5 separate regions of the Homo sapiens genome follow, and all the other regions are linked to region 1. Evidence: promoter capture Hi-C in human tissues and cell types (Jung and others, 2019). All regions are on one chromosome and are shown on one strand. The core of a region is centred on a gene start or on the middle of the fragment in contact, and the rest is flanking DNA. Distances in the headings are between cores, read along the strand shown. Region 1 holds the start of KHSRP (KH-type splicing regulatory protein). Region 2 overlaps INSR (insulin receptor). Region 3 holds the start of PRR22 (proline rich 22). Region 4 holds the start of MBD3L3 (methyl-CpG binding domain protein 3 like 3). Region 5 holds the start of FUT6 (fucosyltransferase 6).

Evidence for each region. The method cuts DNA at HindIII sites, captures the fragments that hold promoters and counts their contacts. A contact is called where the count stands out against the background at its distance.
Region 2: a fragment that was not itself captured here is called in contact with the fragment with the promoter of KHSRP in region 1 in 1 of the 25 tissues and cell types used here (spleen).
Region 3: a contact is called between the fragment with the promoter of PRR22 here and the fragment with the promoter of KHSRP in region 1, in 1 of the 25 tissues and cell types used here (dorsolateral prefrontal cortex).
Region 4: a contact is called between the fragment with the promoter of MBD3L3 here and the fragment with the promoter of KHSRP in region 1, in 1 of the 25 tissues and cell types used here (mesendoderm cells).
Region 5: the fragment with the promoter of FUT6 here is called in contact with the fragment with the promoter of KHSRP in region 1 in 1 of the 25 tissues and cell types used here (neural progenitor cells).

Annotation. Positions count from the first base shown.
Region 1 is chr19:6,423,502-6,426,219 of GRCh38, reverse strand. KHSRP (KH-type splicing regulatory protein) reads left to right here and starts at 1,409. Exons shown (of 19, transcript NM_001366299.1): 1 at 1,409-1,767. The coding sequence starts at 1,519. It overlaps SLC25A41 (solute carrier family 25 member 41), which reads left to right. Exons shown (of 7, transcript NM_173637.4): 7 at 1-183. RefSeq lists an enhancer at 982-1,101. The HindIII fragment of the contact is 26,210 bases long and covers 1-2,718 here.
Region 2 is chr19:7,179,160-7,181,877 of GRCh38, reverse strand. All of the region lies in intron 3 of INSR (insulin receptor), which reads left to right. Among named protein-coding and RNA genes, the nearest start is that of ZNF557, 110 kb to the right of the region's middle. RefSeq lists an enhancer at 2,584-2,683. The HindIII fragment of the contact is 3,478 bases long and covers 1-2,718 here.
Region 3 is chr19:5,783,356-5,786,073 of GRCh38, reverse strand. It overlaps PRR22 (proline rich 22), which reads left to right and starts at 1,328. Exons shown (of 3, transcript NM_001134316.2): 1 at 1,328-1,543; 2 at 1,635-1,697; 3 at 2,021-2,718. The coding sequence starts at 1,414. It overlaps DUS3L (dihydrouridine synthase 3 like), which reads left to right. Exons shown (of 13, transcript NM_020175.3): 11 at 283-471; 12 at 563-691; 13 at 799-934. The coding sequence ends at 871. The HindIII fragment of the contact is 36,623 bases long and covers 1-2,718 here.
Region 4 is chr19:7,057,337-7,060,054 of GRCh38, reverse strand. It overlaps MBD3L3 (methyl-CpG binding domain protein 3 like 3), which reads left to right and starts at 1,379. Exons shown (of 2, transcript NM_001164425.4): 1 at 1,379-1,494. The coding sequence starts at 1,450. The HindIII fragment of the contact is 21,543 bases long and covers 1-2,718 here.
Region 5 is chr19:5,838,309-5,841,026 of GRCh38, reverse strand. FUT6 (fucosyltransferase 6) reads left to right here and starts at 1,325. Exons shown (of 3, transcript NM_000150.4): 1 at 1,325-2,350. The HindIII fragment of the contact is 16,612 bases long and covers 1-2,718 here.

The DNA of each region.
Region 1 (2,718 bases), core at 160-2,659:
GGGGTTGGTGGTGGGTGGAGGGGGGCAGTGCTGGGTCAGAAAACTCCTGGGACTCCCTCCCCAGGGTGCAGCCTGAGACAAGAAACGTGGACTCCAGTCTGGCCCCTTGTGGGTCGTCCTGGCTCCAGGGCGAAATGGTGAACATGTCACACAACAAGGAATAAAGAGATGGTTTTTGCTGAACGTGTCTGGATACTTGGGCCTAGGAGTGGAACTGGGTGCATGAGATCCCTGGACCCAGTAGGGGAGCTGGGGACCTTGGGCCTCTGGGTCCTGAATGGGAATTTGTGTCCAGGAGAGGAAGTGAGGACCTAGGATAGGAGCTTGAGGCTTGGATCCCAGGGCCTTAGGCGAAGGGAGTGAGGGGTGTGAAGTGAGGGGTGTGATCGAGGCTGTGATCCCTCGATCCCGGTTGTTGGAACGGTTCTGGACTCGTGAGTGGGGCTGGTTCCTTGAGTCCTGCAAGAGAACTGGACGCTCTAGATGGGGGGTCGAGAGAGAAGAAGGCCCGGGGGATCCCGAGTTTCCTGCTTTCCGGCCTCCCCACCTCCGGAAGCGCTCGATCTCTAAGGCTTCAAGCGGGCCACGTGCCGGGCCTACCCAACCAGGCTGCCGGTGAGCTAACCCAGACATCAGGCCTGAGTTCGGGCAGCCGATTGCCACCGCCCACGTCGGCTGCCATTCACTACAGTTCCCGCTAATCCCCTCGCTGTCTGGTGGCCGACTCCGCCCCAATGCAGCGGCGCTTCCACTGGCTCCCACCAAAAGTGGGCGCTTTGATTTCCTTCATTCCCATTTGTCCAGACCAGTGTCAGTCACCGAACACCCACCCATGTCGCTCAGCCATTGGCTTAGAAGTCAGGGATAGAAAAGGATTCTGGTTAACAAGGGAAGCAATTAAAGTCCAAAGCCAACCTCATCACCCAGAACTCGTCAGGAATTGGATTAATTGGCTGCCCATCTTTACAAGCACCACCTCTCACGTGCATTCATTGGCTTGTGTCCACGACTATCAAACCTAACGCCCACCCAGCCGGTCCATAGGAGTCTTCCACTAGGCCCGGCCTTACAGTCCACGTGACTCTTCAGAACCGTCAATCTAATTCTGAAGCCGCCCCGCGAATCTGGCACTCGCGTTTCATTGGGCCTCCTGCCTTCTCAGATCTCCTTCATTTGCCCGCCCAGCACGGGCAGCTCGCAGCTATTGCCTCTGAGAGCTGTCAGTCACTCTGAGCCTCCCGCCCACTGCCCCTCATTGCACTCCGATTGGCCACCTCCTACAGAGCTCGCGATTGGTGTCCGGGGTGCGGCGGCTGCCTCCCATTGGCCCGCCGGAGTCGTCCGTCACGTCGGCGGCGGGAGGGGCGACTCTCTCCCCCCTCGTCGTCCTCCCAGCGGCTGGGTTCCCAGAGTGCTCCGCGGCCGTGTGGAGCGAGGCCTTGTTCCCGCGTTGAGCCGCCGCCGCCGCCGCCGCCTCCTCAGCTTCAGCCTCCGCGCCAGGCCCGGCCCCGCCGCGCCATGTCGGACTACAGCACGGGAGGACCCCCGCCCGGGCCGCCGCCGCCCGCCGGCGGGGGCGGGGGAGCCGGAGGCGCCGGGGGAGGCCCTCCGCCGGGCCCGCCAGGCGCGGGGGACCGGGGCGGCGGCGGTCCCGGCGGCGGCGGCCCGGGCGGGGGGTCGGCCGGGGGCCCCTCTCAGCCACCCGGCGGAGGCGGCCCGGGAATCCGCAAGGACGCTTTCGCCGACGCCGTGCAGCGGGCCCGCCAGGTGAGGAGGCCGAGGGCCTGAGGGGCGCGCTCGCGCGCGCGCGCAGGCGGGGGAGGGGGCGGGGGTCACGTGCGCGCGCGCGCGCAGGGTCGCGGAGGGGGGCCGGGGCCGTCGCGGGGTCACGTGGGCGGTAGGCGGGGGCCTGGCCCTCCCGCTGCGCCTCGAGTGGGATCCCAACGGGTGACCCCCCTGCAGGGAGTAGGGGCGCACTGGGGGTCACCAGGAGCGGCGCCTGGGTGTGCAGGCGCCCCGGAGCTCGGAGACGCACTTTTGGGACCCCCCCCTTAGCCCCCCGGCCTTAGGACATGCCTGGAGGCAGGGGTCCACCTTCCCGGGCGGAGGGCCTTTACTCTCCCCTCCATATCAGGGCAAAGGGCAGTGTTTGCCCCCAACCCAGTCCCATTTCTGTCCCCTCTCTAGGAGAAAGGGACATTGTGGGGGTGGGAGGGACAGTCCTTCCTCTTCAGTCGGGAAAGTGGATGGGGACCTGTCTAGGGCTGAGCACTTGGGCGAAATGGGGAAGACGAGCATGGGGACTGGCTCTTGGATGCTTTGGTGGCTTGAAAGCGTGGTCTGTCTCTTTGGGGGAAAGAAGGGAGGGTCTCCCACCCCCGTGTATTGAGGCGTAATGACAAGGAAGTGTCACATGCTGCTAGGACTGACCTCTCCAGCTCCATTTGCAGCCTCCCCATGGCCTGGAGGGGTGGGGGTCGGTAGAATGGGAGGACTTTGCCGCCGACCGGCTCCTGGGCTGTCCCAATGCCTCCGGGGCTAGAGACTGGCTCCTCCCAAGGTGGGAGGTCCCGTTAAGTGAACGCCTGTGTTCTGGCCCTCTGTCGTCTCTCTCACCCTTGGAGTTGGGTGGGTTCTAGCGTGCATTTGGTCTTATTGCCCATGGAACCGTCTGATTCTGGGACAGCTTGAAGGGAGGAAGCTGGTGCTGTCAGTTGG
Region 2 (2,718 bases), core at 76-2,575, 760 kb before region 1:
CAGGCACAGTGGCTTATGCCTGTAATCCCAGCACTTTGGGAGGCCGAAGTGGACGGATCATCTGAGGGCAGGAGTTCAAGGTCAGCCTGGCCACCACGGTGAAACCCCGTCTTTACTAAAAATACAAAAACAAAAAAAAAATTAGCTGGGCATGGTGATGCATACCTGTTATCCCAGCTACTCGGGAGGCTGAGGCATGAGAATTGCTTGAACCCAGGAGGCAGAGGTTGCAGTGAGCTGAGATCACGCCATTGCACGTTAGCCCCCAGGCAAGTGTGACAAGAGTGAAACTGCATCTCCAAAAAAAAAAAAAAAAAGGTCTCACCATCTACTGTCGTTCCAAAGTACCTGCTGGGATGTAATAGCACAGTGCTGCTTCCTGAGATGAGAAGGACCAGATATTTGTGATGAATAAATTTTCAATGCGTATGGGGTATCCACTGGGAAGGGGAGAATTACCTAAAATCCTTGATTCTTCTTGGCCTCTCTCACTTCTTCCTATTAAGCTGAGGTCTCAAATTTGTCTACACCTCCATCTATTTCACCATCATGTCTGGTCTGACCCAGTCCCCTTGAACAATCTCTTTGCTCCTGCTTCCATTCTAGTGACACTGGTAAAAAGTGGCCACCTGGGCCAGGCGCGGTGGCTCACGCCTATAACCCCAGCACTTTGGGAGGCCGAGGTGGGTGGATCACCTGAGGTCAGGAGTTCGAGACCAGCCTGACCAACATGGTGAAACCCCATCTCTACTAAAAATACAAAAATTAGCCAGGCGTGGGATTACAGTGGGCGCCTGTAATCCCAGCTACTCGGGAGGCTGAGACAGCAGAATTGCTTGAACCCGGGAGGTGGAGGTCGCAGTGAGCCGAGAGTGTGCCACTGCACTGCAGTCTCGGTGACAGAGTGAGACTCTGTCTCAAAAGAAAAAATAAAAGTGGTCATCTGATCATATGCCATGTCCTTCCCTAAAACCCTCCGGTGGCTTCCCAAGACCAATGGACAGAATCCAAACTCCTCATCGGGAGGGCTCGGCCAGTTCTCATTCTCATTTCATTCCGGTGCCCCCTGGCCGTGGTGGTCGTTACCGCAGGAGCTTTTCCTGCAACTTGCTACATCCGCTTTCCTCTGTGCCTTTCAATTAGCTGTTCCCTCTTCCTATAATGCTTGTCCCTGCATTTGAGAATGATCCACTTTTTCCCCTCGTCATCTAGATGGCAGCTTAAAAGTCACCTCCTTGGCAAATCCTTCCCGTCTGAGTCAATCATCCGTGCACTCTCTGTCACATCATTTAGTTTTAACTCTTCGATTTGTCACTAGCTGATATTTTTGTCTTTTTTTTTTTTTTTTGAGACAAGGTCTTGGTCTGTCACCCAGGCTAGAGTGCAGTGGCACCCACATGGCTCACTGTGGTCTCAACCCCCTGGGCTCAAGAGATCCTCCTGCCACAGCCTCCTGAGTAGCTGGGACTATATAGGCACACACCACCACACCTGGCTAAAAAAAAATTCTGTAGTGTTGGGGGTCTTGCTATATTCCCCAGGCTCGTCTTGAACTCCTGGGTTTAAGTGATCCTCCCACCTTGGCTTCCCAAAGTGCTGAGATTACAGGGCCTGAGCCACTGTACCTAGCCTTTGTTGTCAATTTATTCACTCTCCCCAACCAGATGATAAGCTTTGTGAGTGTATCAGCTAGCTCTTGTTGCGTAACAAAACCACCTCAGTGCTTAGTGGCTTAAAACACTCCTTTAGGAGCTCTGATGATTTCATGTGTTGACTGAAGGTTTGTCTGGCCTGGGCCTGTTTAGCTACGGCTGATGGTTTAGGGGAGCCTCTTGTGTCTTTGATGGTCAGTGGGGGTCTCTCTCCATAAGTCTCTTACCCCAGCAGCCAGGAAGGGCAGACCTCAATGTTCAAGTGCTTTTCAAGCCTCAGCTTGTATCACGTTTGCAAATATTCCATTGGCCAAAGCAAGCCATATGGCCAAGCCCAGATTCAACAGGTGGGAACATAGACTCCACTTCTTGGTGGGAGAGGCTGCAAAGAACTCATGGTCATTTATAATTTCCCACTGGGAAAGCATATTATCTGCTTTGTTCACTCATGTATACCGGCAGCTGAGAACGGGGGTTGGCCAAGGGCCAGATAGTAAATATTTTCAGCTCTCAGGGCCATATGGTCTCTGTTGGAGCTACTTAACTCTGCCTTTGCAGCGTGAAAGCAGGGTTAGACGATGTACTAACCAATAAATGTGGCCATATTCCAATAGGATATTATTTGCAAAAACAGGTGGCCTACTGGATTTGGCTCCCAGCCCACTGTTTGCCAACTCCAGGCTTAGAGCATTGCCTGCCACATAATAAGAATAGAGGCAATAAAAGAAGTCAAACATTTGGTCAGTATTTTGTTTCTGCCTCAGCTGTTCTGCCACTACCTGGGTGTACTTGCAACACCGTTCTGACACCATCCTCCTCCAAAGTTAGCATCAGACGCCACAAGTTTAAGGCTCAGCCCTCCATGAGATTTCCCTTGCTTCAGACACTGGCAGCATCTTGGGGATCCCCCAGCCACCCACACTTCTGACTAACTGGCTCTAAATTGGGGGATTCCCACAAACTGTTTGGGTTTCATAATTTACTAGAAGGAACTCACAGAATGAAAATAAACCTGGCCAGGTGTGGTGGCTCATGCCTGTAATCCCAGCACTTTGGGAGGCCATGG
Region 3 (2,718 bases), core at 79-2,578, 640 kb after region 1:
AGGCTGAGGCAGGACAATTGCCTGAACCTGGGAGACGGAGGTTGAACAGTGAGCCGAGATCTTACCACTGCACCCCAGCCTGGGCGACAGAGCCAGACTCCGTCTCAGAAAAAACAAAAGAAAGTCCTGTGCTTTGAAGGTTGTGTGCATGCAGCTGGGAGGCTTACTAGGCTTGTAGGTTTTGTGGTCTGGGCTCCGGCTCAGGCCAGGCCATGGAAGCAGAGGCCACACGATCCCAGGCAGGCTGGTGGCTGGGCCCACTGATCGTCACCCGTCCCACAGTGGCGCCCTGCTCAAGCCGTGGCTCTTCACGGAGATCAAGGAGCAGCGGCACTGGGACATCTCGTCGTCCGAGCGCCTGGACATCCTGCGGGACTTCACCAACTACGGCCTGGAGCACTGGGGCTCGGACACGCAGGGCGTGGAGAAGACCCGGCGCTTTCTGCTCGAGTGGCTGTCCTTCCTGTGCCGGTGGGCACCGGGGCTGGCTGGGGTGGGCGGCGCGTGGGCCGCGGCTGGTTAGAGCTGACTCAAGCCTGTCCTGCCCGCCCACCCGCCGCAGGTACGTGCCCGTGGGGCTGCTGGAGCGGCTCCCACAGAGGATCAACGAGCGGCCGCCCTACTACCTGGGCCGCGACTACCTGGAGACGCTGATGGCCAGCCAGAAGGCAGCCGACTGGATCCGCATCAGGTGCCTGGGTGGGCTGGAGTTGGGGAGCTGCAGTCGGGGGCCCGGGGTCACGGAGGGTACTTTGCAGGTCCTGGGCCTGACCTCGCTTTCCACCTGCTCTCCCACAGCGAGATGCTCCTTGGGCCAGTGCCCCCCAGCTTCGCCTTCTTGCCGAAGCACAAGGCCAACGCGTACAAGTAGCCTCAGGCTTTCCCAGGGGCACCCTGGGGCGAGGAGAGTACAATAAATTTTATTCTTTTAAAATCCAGGCCTTTCTGTGACCCTGAAGCAGCCCCTCCTCGGCCCCCACCTTCCCCAAACCTCTTAGCTGCCTCCATGGGCCCTGCCCCAAGCTGGGTGCTGCTGGTGCCCAGAGAGGCCTTGACCCCCAAGAAGGTAGCGGGTTGAGGACCCGGGGGGCCTCAGCCTGTGTGGGTGTGGATCAGGGCAGCCTGCCTGGAGGAGGCGGCCTCAAAGCTGTTAGGGGGGTGTTGCTGGAAGAGGCAAAGGCCTGGCCCAGAATCCTCCCTCCCATGGTGATGACCATGTCTGCCAACGTCTGCCCCTGCTTGCCCCCAACACCCAGAACCCCAACCAGTGGGCGCGCTGCAGGCTGGAACCCGCTGCCCCGAGTAACCAGGCAAACAGAACCCCACCAGGTTCTCAGCCTGTTCTCCGGTTGGGCCACTTGCACTCCCACTGCCGCCCTCCTGGCCTGTCTGGACCGGGCCCCCCGCTGCCCCATGCAGCACCCCAAACCGTTCTGTGCCCCTGCAGCTCCCCAGGAAGGTTTCAGCCCGCAGAGTCTGGAGGGGGCTGAGGTGCTGGGCAACCAGCCTGCTCCCACCTGTGCCGAGCCTCCTCCCGCTATGGGTACGATCGGGTGGGTGGGAGCACCTGCTGGAGAGGGTTCAGGGGCCCACCCGCCTAAGGGCCCTACCCACCTGGGCACCTTTGTCCACAGGCTCCTTGAACCTGTATCATCCCCCAGACCCAGAGAAAGAGGTGTTTCCAGCCCCACCAGCAGGTACCGGCCTCCCCTGAGCCCTTGACGAGGCTGGGAGTGGGTTTGAGTGTGCAGGCCCATCTTGCCCCTGCCCCGTCCCTAAGTGGGAGCCTGAAGGCATGGCCTCTGCTCCCCATGCTTCACACAGGTCCCCCAGATGAGCCCCAAAGACAAGCTCTGTGTCATCCATCACCCAGCCAGGGCCCCAAAGCAATATCTATGTCGTCCCCCAAAGGGGCCCCCCAATGGCAAGGTTCTTGTGGCATCTCCCAAACAGGCCCCCAGGCTTGGGCTGGGCCCCTCAGGCAGCAGCTGCTCTCAGGGCACCCGCCTGCCGCCCACAGGTTTCCAGATGGCCCCATGCGGGTGCTTCTTCGACCCCCGCATCTATCGGATCGAGTGGACCACCCCCGACCTGGGCCAGTCAGCCCTGTATAAGCTGGCAGCAAGCAGCGGGGGGCCAGCGGGGGTCCCCTCCGCCCCAGGCAGCTACCTCCTGGAGCCTCAGCCCTACCTCAAGGCCCCGGGGCTGCCTCCATACCCCCACTACCAGCAGGCACCCGGGGGGCCCCAGTTTCTCTTGCCCTACTTCCCGCCTGAGGGCCCCGGGCCAGAGGCTCTGGGTTTTGTGGGGGACGCAGGGCCCGCCGCCTTCGTGGAGCTGCCCCTACCGCCCCTAGAGGAAGGCCCGGCCCCGCTGCCACCCCCACCCCCCAAGGAGAACAAGCCGCCCCCTGTACTCATCACGCTGCCTGCAGAGCCCACACTGCCCCCAGACGCCTACAGCCACCTCCAGGGTCACCTCGGCCACTTCCCTGGGCCCGAACCCCTGGCCTTCCCCGTCAAGGAGCTGCAGGGCAGTGGGGCCCGACCTGGGGTGCCCCTGTACCCACCGGGCCTCAGCGAGCTCAAGGTGGCCGAGGTCAAGGAGGGGGCCCTGCTGGGAGCAGGCAAGGCCAAGGCCCCCAAGACGGCCAGAGCTTTGGCACTGCCTGACAAGGTTCTGCTGGAGGACGCCATGAAGCTCTTCGACTGCCTGCCA
Region 4 (2,718 bases), core at 130-2,629, 630 kb before region 1:
GAAAGAAATTTGTCAAACCAGACACCCGTACCTGACAGCAATATTGCCCCCAAATAAAGATGCCTAAATAAAAGTGTAAAGGAAAACAATTAGTTGTTAGCAGCATTGAATTAGAAGAAAAATACTAGAATGAATTCTCAAGTCCACAGGGAAATAATCCCAGATTGAATGCTAGAAATGCAGAAAGGAACAAAGATGAATGCACAAGATAAGCTGTAGGTAAATATTAGTGCATATTGCTTTATGAAGCAATACTAGAAATGTCTCCTGGAGAGTAAAATATGTGTAGAATTAATATGCATGAGAATGGTAATACAAAAGTCAGAAACAGCTAAAAAGAGAATTAAAAGTGTTCTAAAGTATTAGCATTTTGTGGGAGGGGTTAAAGTAATTAATTGTATCAGAGTATATGATTTAATTATTAGCATAACTACACAGATTTGTATGGCTGTAACTAGCAAGTTCATGGAGATAACAATAAAATAATAAACATATTTAATTCAAAGTCAGTCAAGTAAAGGCAAAAGGAACGTGAGTCAGTTAAGTCAAAACCTAGGAAAAATGAGATGATTGAAACAATTTCAAATTTACTGGTAATTATATTAAATGTAAATGCACGAAATAGAACTTTTTTTTTTTTTTTTTTTTGAGATGGAGTCTCACTCTGTCGCCCATGCTGAGCTGCAGTGGTGCGATCTCGGCTCACCGCAACCTCTCCCTCCCAGGTTCAAGCGATTCTCCTGCCTCAGCCTCCCGAGTAGCTGGGATTACAGGTGCATGCCACCACACCAGGGTAAGTTTTGTATTTTTAGTAGAAATGGGGTTTCACCATGTTGGCCAGGCTGGTCTCGAACTCTTGACCTCAGGTGATCTACCTGCCTTGGTCTCCCAAAGTGCTGGGATTATAGGCGTAAGCCACCTCTCCCGGCCAAAGTAGTAATTTCTTTGCAACAACTGTGTGATATATTCTATAGGATTGTGAATAAAAGTTTTGGGCTTTCTTTTCTTAAAGAACATTTAAATGGTCTTTAGTTGTTGTTATTAAATCAAATATTACGTGAACATTTATGTACATAGACAATTCCATTCCTATTTCTATAGAAAGTATTCAAAGATGTTTGGAAAACTGGGAGAAAAAGGGAAACATATCTAAAATGCTGATATTAACTGTAAATACCACCCCGCCACACACACATACACACGTATTCAATTCTTTCTCTACTAACACTCTGTGTAGGTAACACCACATTGGTTTCTGTATAAAGATTTAGAAATGCCTCAAATCCAATGGGCGGAGACAGGGTGTTCCCTGTGGATTATCCACTGATTGCATTATCACTCGCTTTCTCTATAAAAAGGGGAACCAGATGCAGAAGTCACTGCATTTTCCGGCAAGCCAAGGGTTGTCTGCATCTCAAGAGTGGGGTCAGCAAGAGAAACTCTACGGCTATGGGAGAGCCTGCGTTCACCTCTTTTCCGAGCCCACCTGTTCTGGTGAGTACGGGATATTTATTGATTACAGGAATGTCCATATGTGTCCTTTTTCCTTCTGTAAGACAGCTTTACAGTTAGCAGTGGGTTGTTCTTAAAACTGGATGTTGTGGAAAGTTATACCTCAGGTGGTAATATCTGTTGAATAATGTTCAAAGTATTCTCATTTTTGCCCATGAAACTGTATGGGGATAATAGCTTTGAATTTTTTTTTAAAAATCCAACATCACTAGGAAAGGGAAGAAGTATGATTTGGCCTTGCAGTCTTCAAATTGTCTCCTTCTCTGGAAAGCTCCTGAACCAGAAATTGCTTGGTCCGTTTTTTTAAAAAAACAAAAAACAAAAAAAATTAGTTCTCTGGTAAAATTTCATGATGAGTTGCTTATTCCCTAAACTCACTGTCACGATTCATTGTAGTGAATTTCTTTTCTGTTTCTCTGTTTCTCCTCCTTCCATCCCTCTCTGTCACTCCCTTCTTCTTCATCATGGAACTTACTTATATCTGATATTCCACCAGAAATTTGTTTTTAGTGCGTTTATTATGTCTTCCTTCTCACCAAGATGAAAATCAACAGAGTGGTGATTTATGAAGTTTACTTCTGGATCAGGGGTTCTACTGCACAGCTTGGCACATCATAAGTGCCCCGTAACTAAGGGGACTAAATAATTTTCCCTCCAAAGGGGAACATCTTGGGTCAGTATTAATCTTTATGCCAGGGGTACTGTAAGGGGTAGTATTAATCTTTATGCCAGGACAACGAAAAATGAAATGAGGAGGACAGAAACAAAGGCTTTAAAATGGAAAGTGCACTGATGAGGTTTGTGGGGGAAACAGCTTTATGAGACTAGAGTCTTCCAATTGAGTTAGAGCAAGAAAGGACGTCAAATCTTAGGAGGCGCTTGATCATCTTTCTCAGTATGTCATCAAAAGATTCTCTCATGGTATACCTCTAGTTAATTGAGCTTATTAGAAACAGAAAGCAACATGGTGTTTCTGAGGTTTTTCTTCATGAGCAGGAGGTGTTCAGGTGAAGGTGGGATCTGGGTGTGGCAGTGAGTATTTAAGGTGGCGAGTGCAGGATTTCTTTGGAAACCAGAGAGTCAAGGAGCTATGAAAATGACGTTGTGTCCTGAAGCACAGCAGAAAGAGATACAGAGAAGCGTGAGGTCTTGGTGAACAGGGAAGTCTGGGATCCCGGTGTCCTGTTGGGGATGGGTTAGGAGGCA
Region 5 (2,718 bases), core at 76-2,575, 590 kb after region 1:
AGGCCGAGGCGGGCGGATCACAAGGTCAGGAGATCGAGACCATCCTGGCTAACATGTCTCTACTAAAAATACAAAAAAAAAAAAAAAAATTAGCTGGGCGTGATGGCGGACGCCTGTAGTCCCAGCTACTTGGGGCAGGAGAATGGCGTGAACCCAGGAGGCAGAGCTTGCCATGAGCCGAGATCGTGCCACTGCACTCCAGCCTGGGCCACAGAGCGAGACTCTGTCTCAAAAAAAAAAAAGAAAAAAAACCCAGCTGGGCGGAGTGGCTCATGCCTGGCCTCTAATCCCAGTACTTTAGGAGGCTGAGGCAGACAGATCACCTGAAGTCAGGAGGTCAAGATCAGCCTGGCTAACATGGCGAAAACCAGCTCTATTAAAAAAATACGAAAGTTACCCAGTGCCGTGTCACGCGCCTGTAGTCCCAGCTACTCGGGAGGCTGGGGCATGAGAATCGCTTGAGCCCGGGAGGCATAGGTTACAGTAAACTGAGACTGTGCCACTGCACTCCAGCCCGAGTGACAGAGCAAGATTCCATCTCAAAAAAAAGAGAGAGATAGGGGTATCTCTGTTTTCCCTAGGCTGGTCTCAGACTCCTGGGCTCAAGCGATCTTCCTGCCTCTCCTTCCCAAACTGTTGGGATTACAGGTGTGAGTCACTGTGCATGGCCTCAGAAGTCTTTTTTTTTTTTTTTTTTTTTTTTGAGACAGAGTCTTGCACTGTCGCCCAGGCTGGAGTGCAGTGGCTCAATCTAGGCTCACTGCAAGCTCCGCCTCCCGGGTTCACACCATTCTCCTGCCTCAGCCTCCCAAGTAGCTGGGACTACAGGCACCCACTACCACGCCTGGCTAATTTTTTTGTATTTTTAGTAGAGACAGGGTTTCACCATGTTAGTCAGGATGGATGGTCTTGATCTTCTGATCTCGTGATCTGCCCACCTCGGCCTCCCAAAGTGTTGGGATTACAGGCGTGAGCCACCACGCCCGGCCCCCAGAAGTCATTTTTTTAATAAGTTACAGTCAACCTCACCAGTCAAGGAATGAGACATGAGTGGAATTAGGTTGCCACTTCTGGAGCTCTGGGAGACCCCAACCCCCTGGCCCATCCCTACCTCCCAGAACCTCACTGGTCTGGGCGTGGCTGGGCACTGAGATAGTAGAACTCAGGCAGCATGATGCAGCCTCCCAGAAATGATTTCTAGAACAGGGCAGTCGTGATACTTGGAGGCTGGGCTTTGAGCTCGGTCACCTTTGCACCCAGCTTGGGAGTGAGAGAGTTTAAGGTCATCCTCCCTCAAAACCAGTATTCCAGATCATTTCTCTCCATTCCAGGAAGTTTGCATAGCTCCCTGGACTTCTGCTTTGCACTGCCCTGCAGGAGTGGGTGGGGAAAGGAAGTGGCTTTGAGGCACACAGAGGGGCTTGTTGAGGCCACCGGAGGAAGCTTCTGCCACCAATATGGGACCTGTGCCCAGCCTACCAGAAGAGAGCATCTGAAAACATGTATCGACATGGTAACCCCTCTGCTTGAAGCCTCACATGGCTCCCTATTGCCTTGGTGCTGAACACCCTATGGCTGACCGTGGCCCAGCCTCTGCAACAGCTCTGCCTCCTCTCCAGTGGTGAAGACCCAGCCTGCTGAGACTCCTCCTGCAGTTCCTCAACATGCCTGCATTTCTGCTGCCTCAGGGCCTTTGCGAAGGTTGTTCCTTGTAACTGGAATGCCCTTCCATCCCTTTTTTATTCAAAAGGCTGCAATTTTAATTGAAGAAAGTTCCCTTCCAAGGTTCATGAGTTGCCTGACTTGCCCACCGGTTTCCTGCAAGATCCCTTGGCCTGGCACTTAGTGCTCAGGAAATATTTGGTGATGGGCCAACTGAGTGAGAAGGTGGGATCTGGTGGGAAGGAAAGCGGAAAGGTAGAAATTCTGCTCACTTCCTCATTCCCACCTCCCAAGGAACCCCTGGTGTCCCTGTGGAACCCGCTTTGGGAACCGGTGGTTCAGGTCAGCCTTTTCACTTTGTACTCAAAGCCACATCGCATTGAAGCCACAGGTGGGGCAAGGTCATGCATGACCTGAGTCTCCAAATCCCTTCACCCTGTTTGGTTCTGCAACGGGGATTAGGGGAGCCCCACGATTTGTTTTCAAAGGATGTCCGGGCTCCAGGACAGGATGCCCTGGGTCACCTGATGACAGGTGTGGTGGTTGGAAAGGGCCTGGTTTCAGCTCCGGGTACACTTCCTCCTTCCTTCTGCTGCGTGGTGTGGCCTCTTCCACGTCCTCAGAATCCAGCTGTTACTCCGTCCGCGGCCTCTCAGCTCTAGGGCCCTCTGCACACTGGCCCCCCCAGGTAAGGCCTCTTGTCCCACTTTCACCCCCAACCCGGATCGCATGGGTCCAGGGAAAGGCCTCCTGGCTCCGAGCCTCCTCCCCTCAGCCTCAGTCCTGTCTGCTGTAATTCAGAGTGCGGGTGGGCTGGCACAAGATCCCTGGGGGAGGGTCTGCAGGCTGTGCAGTGGCCTGGCATTTGGCCAGCAGCCCCTAGTCGCAGGCAGGGGTCTTTCTGGATGCACCGAGGTGGGCTGAGGATATGGGAGGTCTGGCTGATTTGCCAAACCAGGAGGAAGTGGGTGTCTGTCTGTCTCTCTTGCAGAGCTCTGCGGTAGAATCCCGTGCCCCCCGACCCCATCAGCAGCCTACACCCCTTCATCCTTCCTG